Regions from separate parts of the Homo sapiens genome. Here regions 1 and 2 are each linked to region 3. Evidence: promoter capture Hi-C in human tissues and cell types (Jung and others, 2019). All regions are on one chromosome and are shown on one strand. The core of a region is centred on a gene start or on the middle of the fragment in contact, and the rest is flanking DNA. Distances in the headings are between cores, read along the strand shown.

Region 1 (3,690 bases), core at 291-2,790, 310 kb before region 3:
GAAGGCTGAGGCGGGTAGATCACCTGAGGTCAGGAGTTCGAGACCAGCCTGGCCAATATGGTGAAACCCCATCTCTACTAAAAATACAAAAATTAGCCAGGCATGGTGGCTTGCTCCTGTAATCCTAGCTACTGAAGAGGCTGAGGCACGAGAATCGCTTGAACCCAGGAGGCGGAGGTTGCAATGAGCTGAGATCACATCACTGTTGCCTGGGCAAGAGAGCAAGACTCCATCTCAAAAAACAAAACAAAACAAAACAAAACAAATTTAAGTAAATTTCTACTCTATTCTTTATTTAAATCACAGATTTTATAAATGATTGAATAATTATGACTGAATGATTAAATAACGATTTAATCTATAATTTCTTGTCTATGATTTAATGATGTTAATTTCACTATGGCATAACTAATCTCAAATCTTTTTATCTTCTTTTAATGGAGTTATATTTTAAAAAAAGATTTGAGACTAGTTATGCCACAGTGAAATTAACATTACATTTAATTTAGCATACTAGAATTATTGTCTTTCAACAACCCAATGATTCCTAATCAATTTTTGAGGTAATCAGTTTTCTAACAGTAGATGGAAATGTAGGGAGTTCCCCCATCTTTCACCAAACCAAATTTCAGCACTACCTCTAGTCAATACTTAATTTACATCTCCAATTCCATTCTTATCATCTTCATACACGACACAAACTGAATGCTAACTAAAAAAGCTTCAGGTAATTTCTAAAATGTAGCACTCTAGACTAACTGGAATTCAGTAATTCAGCAAAACAAACTCAATAACAGCACGTTAGACTCAGATATTCACCTTTCCTACTAGTATTTATATCTTAAGAGGTAATCATTTTCATAAATATACAACCACCATGAAATCCCTGGCCCACACTATCTGCAACAGATACTATGCTGTTTTCAAGAGCAAATTCCCACTCTTCAGAAATCTCATCAATGGCTACTTCCTATCTGAAAGCATTTCATAATTCCAAACTGGTTTTCCATCCTTTTTGTTCCATTCACCATTTGACTTATCTGACTGCATTGTGACTGTTTGTATGCTGTCCACTCCTCTGCCCCAGTCAGGAATTACAAAGGCCACTGTCCTATTCATTATTGCCCAACTCCCCACCACCGACCTGCCCCCAATGAGCATCTAGCATATAGCAGGTATATAATCAATAATCTGGATGACTGCTGATATTTTAATTTTTTTTTTGAGATGGAATCTGGCTCTGTCACCCAGGCTGAAGTGCAGTGGCGGCGTGACCTTGGCTCACTGCAACTTCCGCGTCCCGGCTTCAAGTGATTCTCCTGCCCCAGCCTCCTGAGTAGCCGGAACTACAGGCGAACACCACCACACCCGGCTAATTTTTATATTTTTAGTTAGAGACAGGGTTTCACTATATTGGCCAGGCTGGTCTCAAACTCCTGACCTTAAGTGATCCACTCGCCTCGGCCTCCCAAAATGCTAGGATTACAGGCGTGAGCCACCGTGCCCGGCCCTGATATTTGACTTTAAATGCCTATAATCACCAGAGAGATAAATAAGCCTCCTATAAATTTATCTCCCATTTTTTGTGTTTTTTGTCATTTTTTTGTCAAGACCTGGTTACCTGCATAATTTCTCAAAAATTATTCTAGGTTTTAACATTTTAATAGCACATTTTACGTGCTCTACTATACAATTTATAATATGTTGAAGGAGCTATATAAAATGTATGTATGTATATATATTTCTACTTAGATCTATTTTTAAGGAACCTGAGCACATGTTTTACTATTTCAAGTAATTAACAGTGTATGTTTTTTTGTGATGCAGTGTCAGTCACATATATTGATGCTCTTTTAGCTGCTGTGTCTTTTTTCAGGAATGAATCTTCAATTAAAGCACTAAGCACAGAAGTAAATGTAACAAAAGTAGCAAAGCCAGAAAGCATGGAAAACACAAGAAAATGAGACATATGAGAGAACACAGTGGAGATTATAAGAAAACACAAATAAACAGGGCAATTCAAGAGGAACCAAATATGAAAGTTAATATCATGGTCCATCTTGCCCAGTACAAACAGCCCTCAACTTTAAAATGTTATCCAATCATTTTGAAATCTACATAGTGAACTCCTACTATGAACCCAATACTATTCCGAGAACAGAAGACGCAGAGGTGAAGCAGACAGCTAGCCCTAGAAAAGCTTGACAATGCTGAGGCAGGCACATAAAAGAACTACAACAATCTAACAGTTGTTACAATACAGGTGTGTACCAAGAGCTTGGAAACCAACAAAGCACTACCCACTGGGAAGCAGAGAGGACAGCAAGAAAAGACCTAACAGATGAGATCCTGTACTAGGTTTGTCTGTCTTCTCTGGCTTAATCTTGAGATTCTCCATAAAAAAAAGCGGGGTGGCTGGGAGGGGGAGGCTGGGAGAAGGCCATTTCAGGCAAAAGCATGGAGCAATGAAAAAAAGCACAAAACATCAGGGATCATCAAGGAGTTCAAGAGTGGCTAAAGCTCCCAACTGGTATACAGGAATCAACGTAAAAGAAGAGGATAAAAAGGAAGGTGATAAAGGGCCCTGCATACAATGTGAAAAAGTTTGGTCTTTAGCTTAGCTTAGGTTCTAAATAGTAGTTTACAAAATCCTAGAAGTTCTGGAAGGTATTCTAGGAATTCATGTTGCCTTCTATTAATAAACAAGCAAGGAAGCAAATAAAATATTTTTTCTTTTAAAAAAGAACAAATTGATTATTTGTATATCAAATGAGAGGTACAGCTTAGAAGAAATGAAATGATTGTACACAAGATTCAGGTCACTTACATGATTAAACACCAAGTACTCAATATGGTTTTGATTGTTTCACAGTTTAAAATTGTTTTCTTCCTTAGGTTTAATGTCCACCAAAGTTGAACTACTGGTCAAAATTAGAAAGTATAAAAACCATGGATTTTGGAGGGAAAAAAAAGGAAAAGGAAAATATTGATAAATTCTCCTCAAAATGATCTTCACCAAATTCTTAATATACATTAATCTAAGACAAGTTCTTTTACAGCAACTTCAAAAACCATAGGTGATGGAAGGCAAAAAGTGTATTTTGCTTGGCATTTATTGGCAATTCGCACCTACAATGTGCTATATGCCGAGAAGCAATTGCAAAAACTAGCCTGAAAAATTCTCTTACCGTATTTAAAAACTACTGCAAAAATTTAAAAACAATCAAATTTGATGTTTCAAGTGAAATATTAAAGAATTCCAAGCTAGTTTTGCCTGTTTTGATGCTATACGATGTGAACATATTTAAATGTATTTTAATGTAGATTTGGAATTAAAAACTCAACAGGTCATTTAAAATCCCAGCACTTGGGGAGGCTGAGAAGGATCGCTTGAGCCTAGGAGTTTGAGACCAGCCTGGGCAATATAGTAAGACACCATGTCTACAAAAAGTTTTTTAAAAAATTAGCTGAGTGAGTGGTGGCACAAGCCTGTATATCCCAGCTATTGAGGAGGCTGAGGTGGGAGGATCACTTAAGCCTGGGAGGCAGAGTTGCAGTGAGCCAAGATTGCACCACTGCACTCCAGCCTGCCTACAAGGTAGAGCACAGTGGCTCACGCCTGTAATCCCAACACTTTGGGAGAACAAGATGGGAGGATCCCCTGAGCCCAGTTCAAGTCCAGTCTGGGAA
Region 2 (3,203 bases), core at 561-3,060, 290 kb before region 3:
GCATACCTGTAATCCCAGCTACTCAGGAGGCTGAGGCAGGAGAATCGCTTGAACCCAGGAGGCAGAGGTTGTGGTGAGCCAAGATCGCACCATTGCACTCCAGCCTGGGCAACAAGAACAAGACTCCGTCTCAAAAAAAAATACTCTTTAAAAACCACTGAGAAGGCCAGGCGCGGTGGCTCATGCCTGTAATCTCAATACTTTGGAAGGCCAAGGCGGATCATATGAGGCAAGGAGTTTGAGATCAGCCTAAGCAACACAGCAGGACCTCGTCTCTATTTCACTAAAGAAATAAATTATATAATATTTTAAAATTTTTAAAAAGCTCTGAGGAATGCCACTAGCAAAATGAAAGTTGGCTAGAATTAAAACTTTGTAAGCGATGAGTATAAAGTATTGTTTTAAGAAAATGAAAGTAGTAAAGTACTCCAGAAGAGGTTAAAACAACCACGTTAGACATTTTAAACTCAAAGGGATGAAAGACCAATGTTAAAGGGCAAGAAAAACTAGAAATACTCAAGTAATGAAGGCCCAAGACCTCTCAGTTTCTCAGAATAACAATCCTGTCTATCCACTAGAAGACTGGCATTAAAATGATCACATACTGAAATTGTGTACTGGAGTATCTGAAGTGAAAAAAAATCGTAACTTCAAATGCTCTTATTTGAAACCAACATTGAAAATATCAACTGGCTGGGCACAGTGGCTCACACCTGTGAACTACTGGGAGGCCAAGGCGGGAGGATCGCTTGAGCTCAGGAGTGAGACCAGCCTGGGCAACGTGATGAAACCCTGACTCTACCAAAAAAAAAAATACAAAAACTAGCTGGGCATGGTGGAATGCATCTGTAGTCTCAGCTACTCAGAAGGCTGAGGTGGGTCACTTGAGTCCAGGAGTATGCAGCTACAGTGAGCTGAGATTGCACCACTGCACTCCAGCCTGGGCAACAGAGCAAGACTCCACCTCAAAAAATAACGTAACATAACATAACATAACAACATAACATTAACATAACAACATAACATTAACATAACATAACATAACGTAACATAACTGAACTGAACTGAACTAAGCATTCAACTCAAAAATAATAAAAGAGGCCGGGCTCGGTGGCTCATGCCTGTAATCCCAGCACTTTGGGAGGCCAAGGCAGGCAGATCACATGAGATCAGGAGTTAGAGACCAGCCTGGCCAACGTGGTGAAACCCCAAATCTACTAAAAATACAAAAAATTAGCCAGGTGTGATGGCGCGTGCCTGTAATCCCTGCTACTTGGGAGGCTGAGGCAGGAGAATCGCTTGAACCTGGGAGGCGGAGGTTGCAGTGAGCCACGATCAGGCCATTGCACTCCAGCCTGGGCAACAAGAGCAAAACTCTGTCTCAAAATAATAATAATAACAATAAAAGTAAAGGAAATAGATTAGAAGCAAAAATTTTCTTATTAGAAAATTAAACCTTGAAAATAATATTTTGATAAATAAAGCCATGAGTTGATTCTTTGGAAAGACTAGCAAGGTCTGGCAAGTCTGAGTAAGAAACACCAAGACAGGCCAGGTGCAGTGGCTCACGCCTATAATCCCAGCACTTTGGGAGGCCAAGGCGGGCGGATCACAAGGTCAGGAGATCGAGACCATCCTGGCTAACTCAGTGAAACCCCGTCTCTAATAAAAATACAAAAAATTAGCCGGGCATGGTGGTGGGCGCCTGTAGTCCCAGCTACTTGAGAGGCTGAGGCAAGAGAATGGCGTGAACCCAGGAGGTGGAGCTTGAAGTGAGCTGAGATCACGCCACTGCACTCCAGCCTGGGCGACAGAGCAAGAGTCCGTCTCAAAACAAAAACAAAAACAAACAAACAAAAAAACACCAAGACAAATACAAACAATATTTGAACACAGAAGAGACAGAATCTTGGGCCGGGCGTAGTGGCTCACACCTATAATCCCAGCAGTTTGGGAGGCCGAAGTGGGCACATCACCTGAGGTCAGGAGTTCGAGACCAGCCTGGCCAAAGTGGCGAAACTCCGTCACTACTAAAAATACAAAAGTTAGCTGGGTGTGGTGGTGCACACCTGTAGTCCCAGCTACTTGGGCAGCTGAGGCATGAGAATTGCTTGAATCGGGGAGCAGTTGCAGTAAGCCAAGATCATGCCACTGCACTCCAGCCTGGGCAAGAGCGAGACTCCATCTCAAAAAAAAAAAAAAAAAAAGAGAGAGAGAATCAGAAAGAAGACATTTTAAAATTGACAGAAAACCATGTACAATTTTATGTCATTATGCTGGAAAGAGAAAGAAAACCTAAACTGTTCAAAAGGCCGAAAACTTCAGAAGAATGTGGTTACCTGTAAGTACAAATGGGGCATGGCGGGGAAGGAGCAGACAAGGATTACTATCACTTTTCATTCAACATATCCTGTAGTTTGAATTTTTAAAAGCAATCCCATTTATTTATAGAGATATTAAAATTGTAATAAAAATATTAGCACGACAAATGTAATAATGCATTTTTGTAAATACACCTTGACTAAGTAGGGTTTATTCTGTGAATGCAAGAATGACTTGACATGAGGAAATCTACAGTGAATCTACAATTCACTACGTTAAGACATTAGGAGGGGAAAGAAAAAGACATTAGGAACCATATACAATCTCAAGACCATATGCCAGTCATCAATACCATCTCAAATGTCAAAACTCAACATCTACTCAATGTGTTGAGCATGACGACATTCTTAGAAAGCTAGAAATAGAAAAAAACTTTCCTTCATCTCATTATGCATCCACCACCACGATTCATCTCCGTAACTCTTTTCACCTTGTAAAACTGAAGATCTATACCCATTAAACAATAATGTAGCTTGAACATTTTACAGGAATCTTTATTGTTCATAAAAAAATACATAGTTCTAAAAGTTGAGGTACACCTAAAAACTTACACTTTCTGCATAACAAAGTAATTCAAAAAGCTGCTTGTTTGAACGTGGCAACTGATTACTTGACCGTACGCGTGACCGTTCAGAAGTCTGGTTTTTCAACTTCAGATTGAAGAAACGTGATCTGAATGGAATTGCAGTCTCCATGGCCGTGCTTGGAGTATGAGTCCCATTCTGCAGTGAACCTATGCTTTCCTTTTGGCAAAATTCTACGACAGCATAGAGACCCTATACCAAAAACATAAGAAAAAACAGAACACATTTCACGATATA
Region 3 (3,452 bases), core at 235-2,734:
AAAGTACTAGTGTTTTATCTTAGATTGCAAATGCATTGCTTTGCTAAGCTTCACAACCAGTGCTCCGGGCGGCCTCCTAAAAGTCTGGCACCTGACTGGGGAGCAAGAGGGATGGAGGACAAAGCCTCATGAAAGGAGGAAAGCACCTGGGGGAGCAGAGGGACAATAAAGAGGCCCCCATAGAATCGTCTGAAATGGGAGTAGGATCAAGAGCGCTGTCTCCTGCTGCCTACTGATTTTCCACAATCTCCTCCCCTCTTAAAATAATGTCTTCCCCAAACACAACAGCCTTGCTGGGATGGGGTGAAGTGAAATTTCTGACAACTACTCGGGATCCTGAACTTGATGTTCTTACATATGTTCATCCCGTGTCATTTTCTGCACTTGCCTGGAAACTTCTCTAGTCATTAGTTTCTCTCCCTGGGGCTGGATTCCTGCATTGAAAGGCTAGGCCCAAAACAGGGATAAGTAGTCATCAGCAAGGCCACCGCACCGAGTAACAAGCAGGGCTTTAAGGTGACTAAGCAATAAGATAAGGAACTGCATTGCATGAGGGGCATGTACATTACAAACGTGAATAGCAAGCGTGGGCAAACCAGGCCCGCTTTTGTATGTAAAGTTTTATTGAAACATAGCTACTCTCATCATTTGGTAATATATTGTTGGTGGCTGATTTCCTGCTGCAGTGGCAGAGTTGAGTAGCTGTGTTAGAGGCTGTATAGACCACAAAGCCTAACATATTATTATCTGGCCCTTTTCAGAGAGATCATGCCAGTCCGTGGTGTACAGCATTGTGCTAAGCTGTGAGGGACAGACAAACGAGGTTTAAGATGCAGAGCTTAGGCTGGGCATGGTGGCCCACACCTGTAATCTCAGCACTTTGTGAGGGTGAAAAGGGCAAATTGCTTGAAGCCAGGAGTTTGAGACCAGCCTGGGCAACAAAGGTAGACCTCTGTCACTACAAAATACACAAAAATTAGCCAGGCATAGTGGTGTGTGACTGTGGTCCCACCTGTTTGGGAGGCTGAGGTGGGAGGATCTTTTAAGGCTGGGAGGTTGAGGCTGTTGTGAGTTGTGATTGTGCCACTGCACTCCAGCCTGGGCAACAGAGTGACATCCTGTTTCAAAAAAAAAAAAAAAGATGCAGAGCTTACAAATAAGGTTGGTTTCCATCCTCTGCCTTAGAATGTTAACTGATCTCAAACAAGTCAAAACAAAACCCGTAGCAATGATAACCCCAAGCATCATGTTCTACATCCTTCAAGAACCTGCCATTGCTGGTTCTCAGGGACAGGTGGCTTCATAAGAGTAATTTAGGTCTTACTGAAAAGGCAGATTCCTGGTGCCTGCCGCAGAGGCTGACTTCTCAGTTGAGTCTGCGGAAGAAACACTGCTCCACTTAGTCGGTGACAGGCAGCTCAGGGGAGCGTCCTGCATCCCCTGAAGCCATGTCTGATTCTAACAAGGCTCGAGTAATCCTTTCCTAGCTCAAGAACCTTTCTTTAGAGTGTTAGAGAAAGAAAAATTCTTAGTCCTTTGTTTCTCACCACCTAGAGATGCTAGAATTCTACTTCTTGGCACTAAAAGCTATATCATCCTGCACGCTTGTGTTCTGAAGCAGGTGCTAACTCTCTTCTGGGCCTTAATACCTCTCGTTTTTTCTCTTTTCCTCTCAACAACTGTCCTCACTACACAACTTGGCCAGGGCCTCCCGTCCAAGTGAGAGCTCTTCTCTAAGGCAACAGTCTGCAAACTTTATCACAAATTCCATTAATAAAGTTAAGCATGTATCCTCTTTAGATGTATATTAAATTATAAATCACACTTCTGTACCTCTGTACTAATATGCTACATAAATTATCAACATACACAAAACTAAAATCTGAAAATGAATGAGAGGTGAAATTAACATTAAAAATTAATTAACAGCACATTTCTTTGCTATAGTTATATTGTTAATTAATAAAATATTGTCAAAGGAGGGCCACAAAAGAAATAAAAAATTTTTATGTATAATTAACATGATTTCATTGTTTTTTAAAAATTTGGCTTAACACTTTGTGACTCAATAAAGAGCTAGTTTGAAGGTCCATTTATTTCTGTGTTCAGATTTAATGACACATTTGAAATGAATTCTCATTGGAATATGTAGATCTCAGTATAAGTTTGTTGTTAGTTGTACCTAACTAATTATTGTATTTTATTAAATTCCATCTGCAAATAATGCAAAGATCTTGTTGAAATCTAGTTTTAAGTTTATATAGTATTACATTGTGTAGATATAACATATTTAGCCAATTCCATATTGACTCACACTTAAGGTATTTTTTTCTTCTATGATAAACATATTACAATTAGTAATCTTGTACATTTGTCATTTGTACATTTGCAAGAATATCTGTAGGATACATTCCTGGAAATTGAATTGCTGGGTTAAGGACTGTAATTTTGTAATTTTGCTAGATATTGCCAAATTGCCTTCCACGTGGGCTTGTATGACGAAGATGGCTAGCATACCCTATTACCAAAGGTTAAGATATTTGCTAATATTAGAGATGAAACATAATTTGTCAGCAAAGTTTCAATTTCAGCTTCCCTTATTTCAAGCTGTCTGAGCATCTTTTCTTATCTTCAGAAGCCATTTGTGGACTTTTTTCTCTCTCTCTCTCTCTTTTTTTTTTTTTTTAATTGAGACAGAGTCTCCCTCTGTTGTCCAGGCTGGAGCTCAGTAGTGTGATCTCGGCTCATTGCAACCTCCACCTCGCAGGTTGAAGCGATTCTCGTGCCTCAGCCTCCCGAGTAGCTGGTATTACAGGCATGTGCCCCCACGCCCAGATAATTTTTGTATTTTTAGTAGAGATGGTGTTTCACCATGTCTGCCAGACTGGTCTCAAACTCCTGATCTCAAGCAATCTGCTCGCCTCAACCTCCCAAAGTGCTGAAATTATAGGCATGATCCACGGCATCTGGCCTGTGTGCTTTTTCTTGTGAATTGTCTATAATACGAGAAAATACATAGGTTTTTCTTCAAACATCTTTTTCAAAGTGCTTTGAAATAGGAATTTTATAGTCAATGAGAAAATAGAGACAGATTGTCTTTTTTTTCAAAAATGCTTGTTTAGCAAGTTTTCGGATACATAGTAAATATACAAAAGCCATTTCTATTCTTATATACTAGGAATCAAAATATTTTAGATTCTTCTAAAATAAAAAATATCATTTACAACAGCACACACAAGAATATGACGTACTTAAATGTAAACCTAACAAAATCTGTGCAGGATATATATTCTGACAACTGTAAGACAGATGAAAAACTAAAGAAGACCTAAGTGGAAAAGAAATACCATGTTCCTGAATTTAAAAATTCTATGTTGTTAAGATTTAATCTATAGATTTAATGGAATTCCAATTAAAATCCCAGAAAATTGTTTTGAAAATATCAATAAGAT

Evidence for each region. Contacts are between HindIII fragments. The study calls those that stand out against the background at their distance.
Region 1: a contact is called between a fragment that was not itself captured here and the fragment with the promoter of LYZL2 in region 3, in 2 of the 25 tissues and cell types used here (lymphoblastoid cells and spleen).
Region 2: a fragment that was not itself captured here is called in contact with the fragment with the promoter of LYZL2 in region 3 in 2 of the 25 tissues and cell types used here (lymphoblastoid cells and mesenchymal stem cells).

What each region holds. Positions count from the first base shown.
Region 1 is chr10:30,316,649-30,320,338 of GRCh38, forward strand. The region is part of intron 6 of MTPAP (mitochondrial poly(A) polymerase); the gene reads right to left. Among named protein-coding and RNA genes, the nearest start is that of MTPAP, 31 kb to the right of the region's middle. The HindIII fragment of the contact is 3,837 bases long and covers 1-3,459 here.
Region 2 is chr10:30,337,293-30,340,495 of GRCh38, forward strand. MTPAP (mitochondrial poly(A) polymerase) reads right to left here. Exons shown (of 9, transcript NM_018109.4): 3 at 2,934-3,158. Among named protein-coding and RNA genes, the nearest start is that of MTPAP, 10 kb to the right of the region's middle. The HindIII fragment of the contact is 6,752 bases long and covers 1-3,203 here.
Region 3 is chr10:30,628,269-30,631,720 of GRCh38, forward strand. It overlaps LYZL2 (lysozyme like 2), which reads right to left and starts at 1,485. Exons shown (of 5, transcript NM_183058.3): 1 at 1,325-1,485. The HindIII fragment of the contact is 10,435 bases long and covers 1-3,452 here.